2 separate regions of the Homo sapiens genome follow, and region 1 is linked to region 2. Evidence: promoter capture Hi-C in 16 types of primary human blood cells and fetal thymus (Javierre and others, 2016). All regions are on one chromosome and are shown on one strand. Each heading gives the region's core, a stretch centred on a gene start or on the middle of the fragment in contact. The rest is flanking DNA. Distances are from core to core; before and after follow the strand shown. Region 1 overlaps BRWD1 (bromodomain and WD repeat domain containing 1). Region 2 holds the start of LCA5L (lebercilin LCA5 like).

Region 1 (3,561 bases), core at 605-3,104, 210 kb after region 2:
ATCTGTTATTGTAGCCACTTTCCTTGATTATCTTAGCTAGATCTTCTGGATCACTTGCTGCAGGTTCTCCATTAAAGCACTTGCTGCTTCACCTTACACTTTTATGTTATGGACATGCCTTCTTTCCCTAAACCTCATGAACCAACCTCTGCAAGTTTCCATCTTTTCTTCTGCAGCTTTGTCACCTCTCAGCCTTCATAGAATTAAAGAGAGTTAGGGCCTTGCTCTGGGTTAAGCTTTGGCTTAAGGGAATGTTATTGCTGGTTTGACCCTCTATCCAGACACCAAAACTTTCTCTATATTAGCCGTATGGCTATTTTGCTTTCTTACCATTTGTGTGTTCACTGGAATAGCATTTTATATTTCTTGGAAGAACTTTTCCTTTGCATTCACAACTTGGCTACTTGGTGCAAGAGGCCTAGCTTTTAGCCTGTGTTGGCTTTCACCATGCTTTCCTTACTAAGCTTAATCATTTCTACATTGCGAGTTAAAGTAAGATATGTGTGACTCTTTCATTTTTGAATACTTAGAAGCTATTGTATGGTTATTAGTAGGTCTAATTGCAATATTGTATCTCAGGGAATAGACTGGAGCAGTCAGAACACACATGGTATTCATTAAGTGTGCTATCTTATATGAGTATTGTTCCTAGTGCCCCCAAAACAATTAGAATAGTAACATCAAAGATCATTAATCACAAATCACAGTAACAGATACAATAAAAATGAAAAAGTTTGAAATATGGTAATTACTAAAATGTGACATAGAGACAAGAATGAGCTCATGCTGTTTAAAAATGGCACCAATAAATTTACTGGGTTCAGGGTTGTCACAAAACTTCAATTTGTAAAAAACACAACTGTGAAGCACAATAAAGTAAAGCACGATAAAAAGTATGCCTGTGTATACATATTATATGCAGACACATGTATTTTTTTGTCTGTATATCTGTCATTGTTATGCACGACTTCACATTATTCTGATTTTAATGATACCCGTTTGTACTTCCCTTCTGTACAGAGAAACCTGGCTCCTGTTATTTATTTAGATTTTTAAATCTTTTTTTTTTTTTTTTTTTTTTTTTTTTTTTTTTTTTTTTTTACTTTGGAGATGGAATCTTGCTCTGTTGCCCAGGCTGGAGTGCAGTGGCACAGTCTTGGCTCACTGCTACCTTCACCTCCTGGGTTCAAGCGATTCTCCTGCCTCAGCCTCCCAAGTAGCAGGGATTACAGGCATGCATCACCACACCCGGCTAATTTTTTTATGTTTTTGGTAGAGACAGGGTTTCACCATGTTGGCCATGCTGGTCTTGAACTCCTGACCTCAAGTGATCTGCCCGACTTGGTCTCCCAAAATGCTGGGATTACAGGCGTGAGCCACCATGCCCAGCCCTGTTATTTATCATAAACTTATTTGTTTAATTCTACATACACAGAAAGTAGTTTAAGATTTACTAGGCTGGGTGGCTGAAGGCTGTCTCTACAAAAAATACAAAAAAAAAAAAAAATTAGCTGGGCGTGGTGGCGGGTGCCTGTAATCCCAGCTACTTGGGAGGCTGAGACAGGAGAATCGTTTGAACCCACGAAGTGGAGGTTGCAGTGAGCCGAGACAGTGCCACTGCCCTCCAGCCTGGGTGACAGAGTGAAACTCTGTCTCAAAAAACAAAAAAAAAAAGATTTACTTACCCTGTGGTAAAAACCCTAGTATGTAGAGTTTAGTTATTTACTTACTGTTCTTTTTTTGTCGTTAACCAAATTGTATTTAGTACAAATATTTCAAAAGTTATTTATCCTTCTTATACAAAATACAGCATACTACAGATAGTCCCACACTTGACATTTTTCACTTAAAATATCTTTGAGATCACTCCATATGATCCTTATTTGTTTTAAGAGTTATGTAGTACTTTATGGCATGATTGAAACAGTTTATTGAATCGTTCTCCTGGTTATGGGCAGTTAGGTTGTTTCCAATGTTTACATTATAAATAATGCTACAGTGAATAATATTTTGTATACGTATTTTTGTACTGCTAGAAGTGTCATTTGGGGATATATTTATTTGATTTTTTCTTTTTCTTAGGGACAGGGTCTTGCCCTATGGCCCAGGCTGGAGTGCAGTGGTGCAATCATAGCTCACTGCAACCTCGAACTCCTAGGCTCAAGTGATTTCCCAGCTTCTGACTCTTGAGTAGCTAGGACTACAGGCATGTGCTACCATGCCCAGTTAATTTTTTAACAAATTTATAATGACATGTATCCACCATTATAATATCACACAGAATGATTTTACTGCCCTAAAAATCCTCTGTGCTCCATCTGTTCATCTTTCTCTTCCCAACAGCCCCTGACAATCACTGATTTTTTGTCTTCATAGTTTTATCTTTGTAGAATGCCATGTAATTGGAATCATATAGCTAGTAGCCTTTGCAGATTGGCTTCGTTCATTTATTAATATGCATTTACATTTCCTACATGCCTTCTCATGGCTTGATTTTTTTGTTTGTTTGTTTGTTTTTTTTAGCACAGAATAATATTTCATTGTCTGGATATACCATAGTTTTATCAGTTTACCTACTGAAGGATGTGTTGGTTGCTTCCAAGATTTGGCCATTATAAAGTTGGTATAAACATCTGGGTGTAGGTTTTTGTGCGGACATAATTTTTCACCTCATTTGGGTAAACATCAAGTGTGATTGCTGGATCTTATTATGTTTAGTTTTATAAGAAACTGCTAAACTGTCTTCCAAAGTAGCTGTACCATTTTGCATTCCTATCAGTAATGAATGAGAGTTCCTGCTGATCCACACCCTTGTTAAAAAATTCTTTCCAGCATCATCTGTAGATTCACAATCCCAAACAAAATCCCAGCAAATTAATTTTACTGACAAACTGATTTTTCGAGTTTATATAGAGAGGAAGAAGATCCAGTATAGCCAGCACAACACTGAAGAAGAATAAAACTGAAAGACTGACACTCTACTTGGCATTAAGACTTACTGTAAATCTGCAGTTTTCAAGACAGTGATGCTGGTGAAAGAACAGATCAATGGAACAACATAAAGAGCCCAGAAACAGACTGACACAAATATATTCAAACGATCTTTGGCAAAGGAGCAAAGAGAACTTGGTGGACAAATTTATCATTTTCAGCCAGTGGTAGAATAACTGGACATTCACATACAAAATAAATCCTAGACACCAGTCTTTCACAAAAATTAACTCAAAATGAATCATAAGCTTAATGTAAATGTAAAACAAAAAAACCATAAAACTTCTAGAAGATAACAAAGGGCAAAATCTATGTGTCCATGAGTGTGGCATTGACCTTTTTAGATACAATATCAAAAGCACAATCATGAAAGAAAAAATATAAAAAATTTGGACTACACTGAAATGAAAACTGCTTTGGGAAAGACACTATTAAAAGAATGAAAAGATAAGCCACAAACCAGGATAAAATATTAGTAAAACTTATATCTGATAAATGACTTATATTCACAATATACAAAGAACTCTTAAAACCAAGCAATAAGAAGGCAGCCTAATTTAAAAATGGGCA
Region 2 (4,012 bases), core at 367-2,866:
TTCAAGGGCAGATTTGCAGTGACTTATCATGTCTACAGACTGGGAAAAGCTGGTAGAAAAGAGGAGGAAACCATTCTCAGGAAACTCTACCTTTCAATTCCTCCAGTCATGAGCTCCAGGGTTGGATGCTCCCGCAATGGCAAAACTCCGCTCTCGTTACTGTCATGGGGCCACCACCACCCACCAAGCATCAGCCCATCTTTCCATAATGTCAAGTCTAGAGTGACATTTGTCTAATGTTTGCCTACCTGGAGATGTTGCCCCGCCCACCACCACCAGCAAAAACAACCGGCACCCATCTTATACGGATAATTCCCTACCTAAGGAGTTCTAGAAATGCATGGCCCACCAAAACTCAGGGTGGGTCATGCATTTCTAGAGGAAGAAATGGTGATATGGAGAGAAAGCTTGTCCTAACCCACTTCTACCAAAGTAGGATTAAAGTCAATTTGAAAAAAAACACCCGTTTCTCCTTTTATATAAAAACCAAATGCAGAAACTATAGAGAAATGTAATAAGCTTGACTCTACACAAATACCAAAATACACTGTAAACAAAATTAAAGGTAACTGACAAATTGAGGAAATATTTGCAACGTATATCACAAGCCAAGTTTTCAAGCATCAAAAGTCCTTACAAAACCCATTTTTACAAAGATGAATGTCAAGTTTTAAAATGGACAAAAGACAGGAAAATGCAAATCACACAATAAGGACAAATGGCACTCAAGATATGGGAAAAAGTCTATTCTTCCTACTAAAAAGGAAGTGAATACAATTAAAGATGCCAATTTTTGACAATAAAATGGGCAAAAAAATTTTAAGAAAAAAGAGAATTTCCAATGCGGGCCAAGTATCGGGACACTTACTGGAAGGCAGTTTCCCTCTACCTTTAGAAAGCCTCAAAGTGAGCATATGCTTTGGCCCTGCAACCTCGCTTGTAGGAATTTATCCTAAGGAAACAGTCAGGGGTGACCTCAAAGATTCATCTGCAAGGATATTCAACATGGCTTTGATGCAGGAAAAAAAGTAAATAAATAAAAGGAAACAATGTAAGTCTTCCTAAATTATGCCAAATTCCTATGCTGTCATTAAAAAACATCTATAACTCCATCATCTAGGTGATTTTGACTTTTGCTTTGGACTTGCCTGTACATTTCTAAATTCTCTATGCCAAACATGCATTGTTTTGTCATCAGATTTTGTTTTACAAAAAAAAAAAAAAAATCGTCTTTATGACAAGGGGTTAATAGGGGAACTGTGCTTCCCAGGAATTGACCAGGCGTCTACACCCACCTACTGACTCAAGTTACCTAAGACTGACAGAGCCTTAAGAGGTCAGGAGAGCGCCAGAGCGCGTGACAGGCTCCCTCGTCTCGGTGCGGCCACGCGGGAAGGCAGGGTCCCGGGCGCCGAACAGGGACGGCAGGAGGATCGTTTACAGACGTCTACACAAGAAACTCACTTCCCGTCACCGAAGACAAACGCGAGGCCACACTGACCTCCAGGCCCAAGACGCCCCTCCCCGCCGCGGCTCCTGCTGCCCGAGTGCGCATGCGCGCGCCCAGCCCCCGCAGGCCGGCGCTTCCCAGGAGGCCCCGCGCGCGGGTTTCCATGGGGACGCGCCGGCGCTGCGGCGTTGGCGCAGTCGTGGGAACAGCGCGGAGCAGGTAACGGCCCCGCTGCTGCCGTCGTCCCCCTCAGCCGGTTACCCTGTTACAGCCCCAGCTCTGGGCCCTTCCGGACCCTCCTGCTACGCTCTTTCTGGGCTTCCAGTATCGCCGGTCACTCAGTCCTCGCCCCTGCCTGCCTCGCTGGCGCCCCGCCGTTTCCTCCTCGCGGCACAGTTTGCCAAGGAACAGCTACCCCGGCTCGGCAGTGACCGGGCGCCCCGGCGACACACGTACTCTCAGGCCCGCTGGGCAGGGGGACGGCCTGGGCCGAGGTGACCTAGCGCTCCCGGGGCCGCGCCTGGGTCTGGCGAGGGGGCGGAGGCCGATCTCACCGCCGCCCCACCGAGGGAACTTTGGGGTTTTTCTATCTGAATCTTCTATCTGACCTCCGATTTTGCCTCTGCTTACTTGCTGTTTTGCTTTGGATTAGTTTTTCTTTCTAACCTTAGCGCTGGCATCTCCCTATCTCGTAGGAATCTAAATCTTTTGAAATGTCTTCTCTGTCTGTGTTTGTCCCCCACTCACCCAGCCTCGGGGCTCTTTATCCACACCCTCCCCTCAGCGTGTTAACGTTTCGTTGCCACACTTAAGCCAACGGTTAACTTTTTTCAGAGACCAGTTTTCACGGCTGAATGTGAGCTTGAGCCTTTTTTCTGTCTACACTCAATCCCTAGATGAACTCATCCAGTCGCCTGTACTCAGAGCCTATCTGAATTCCAGTGAGCCCCAAGTGTGCATTCCCAGCCCTCGCCCCTCCCCTGAACACCAGATCCCTGCATTTAGCTGCCTGCCACATCCCTACTTGGATGTCTACGGCATCTCAAACACAGCTCGTCCAAGATAGCGCTCAATAATTCCCCAAGCCAAGCCTGTCCTCCCACAATCTTAATCCATCATAGTTGCTGGAAATTCCATCCTCCAGTTGCCCGAGTCTTGCATCCTGTTTGAGTCCTGTTTTTCTCTTCCTCACCTTCAGTCTGTCAGCACTGCCTTCAAAATGCACCCAGAATAGATTCACAATTCTACCATTTCTCTCAACCGCCACTGTCACCACCTTGGTCCAGGCCCCCATCATCTGGTGCGTGGATTATTTTACTTGCTTCCTAATTGGTTTCCCTGAGTCTGCCCCTCCCCCACTTGAGCATGACAGTCTTAATGGTATTTCCCCGTTCTCTGTTATTTCGTATGAGTAAGTTTTTTAAAGGATTATATAAATTACAATTTCCTTATATAAATTACAACTTCCATAGGTAAAAGTGCAGTATTTTCAGTATGTATTTTGCAAATTGCAACTTTTAAACCGGGTCAGCAAGGCCATATAAGCATCCTGCTAACAAGCTAAAAATGTAAAGACACCCCTTAGCTTTGTTAGGTATAAATATGACAGTGCCCCTGGAACAGAACTATGGCAAGAGCTTTACAAGGGACTGTCCTGAAGAACAAAAGAACCCAGAGCCTTCTTCCCAGCGCAAAGACAGGAATCATGTAGGAGTTTAAGCTCTTCCTTTTTTATTTTTTAGAGAAGCACCAAAAGAGGCAAACTGAGATGCAGACAAATGATCATCCGTATGCTGATCATTTTGAATAGTAAGTACCTGGGTGCTGATACCGCGATCAATGTGACAGGTCCCTGCCCTCAAGGAGCTAAGGCCCCTAGCCAATCTCTCTTTTTTTGTTGTTTTTTTTTTTTTTAAGACAGAGCCTTACTCTGTCGGCCAGGCTGGAGTGCAGTGGCAAGATCTCGGCTCACTGCAACCTCCATCTCTGGGCTCAAGCAATTCTCCTGCCTCGGCCTGAGTAGCTGGGATTACAGGTGTACGCCACCATGCCCAGCTAATTTTTGTATTTTTAGTAGAGATGGGGTTTCACCATGTTGGCCAGGCTGGTCTCAAACTCCTGACCTCAGGTAATCTGCCTGCCTCGGCCTTCCAAAGTGCTGGGATTAAAGGCGTGAGCCACTGCGCCCGGCCCTACCCTTGCCACTCTCTTAAACTCCTAGCCCCATCTTTTCTCTTTTGCCATCAGGTAAAACCCCAATTAACCAAAGTAACAGAGTAGGATTGCCACGGTTAGCTGAGGGTCTGTAGGAGATTGCATTTCATAAATGACCATTTTCCTCAGATTTGATCTCCCACCACGCCCTTGTGCTGTCACTTCATAGAGAAGCTTGAAGCTGTCACATGGGAATCCCCTCATTCTTCAGCTCCCAAAACTGCAAGCCTTACTTATATCTGTTCCTACCTTCCTTCCTCCTCCTAACCAAGGCCACTCCCTCTCCGTGCTTTGGATCCCATCGCTTTCCACTCGCCAAAAACTCTACCCTGTCAGGTATACATTCCC

The links. Contacts are between HindIII fragments. The CHiCAGO score rates a contact against its expected background, and 5 or more counts as called.
Region 1: a fragment that was not itself captured here is called in contact with the fragment with the promoter of LCA5L in region 2 in 1 of 17 cell types (naive CD8 T cells); the score reaches 5.0 in naive CD8 T cells.

Annotation. Positions count from the first base shown.
Region 1 is chr21:39,239,014-39,242,574 of GRCh38, reverse strand. All of the region lies in intron 21 of BRWD1 (bromodomain and WD repeat domain containing 1), which reads left to right. Among named protein-coding and RNA genes, the nearest start is that of PSMG1, 57 kb to the right of the region's middle. The HindIII fragment of the contact is 2,775 bases long and covers 467-3,241 here.
Region 2 is chr21:39,443,382-39,447,393 of GRCh38, reverse strand. It overlaps LCA5L (lebercilin LCA5 like), which reads left to right and starts at 1,616. Exons shown (of 11, transcript NM_152505.4): 1 at 1,616-1,669; 2 at 3,193-3,259. The region is part of intron 8 of GET1-SH3BGR (GET1-SH3BGR readthrough); the gene reads right to left. MIR6508 (microRNA 6508) reads right to left here and starts at 384; the gene lies at 325-384. It also overlaps a transcript of SH3BGR not described here. RefSeq lists a silencer at 1,446-1,705. The HindIII fragment of the contact is 3,319 bases long and covers 522-3,840 here.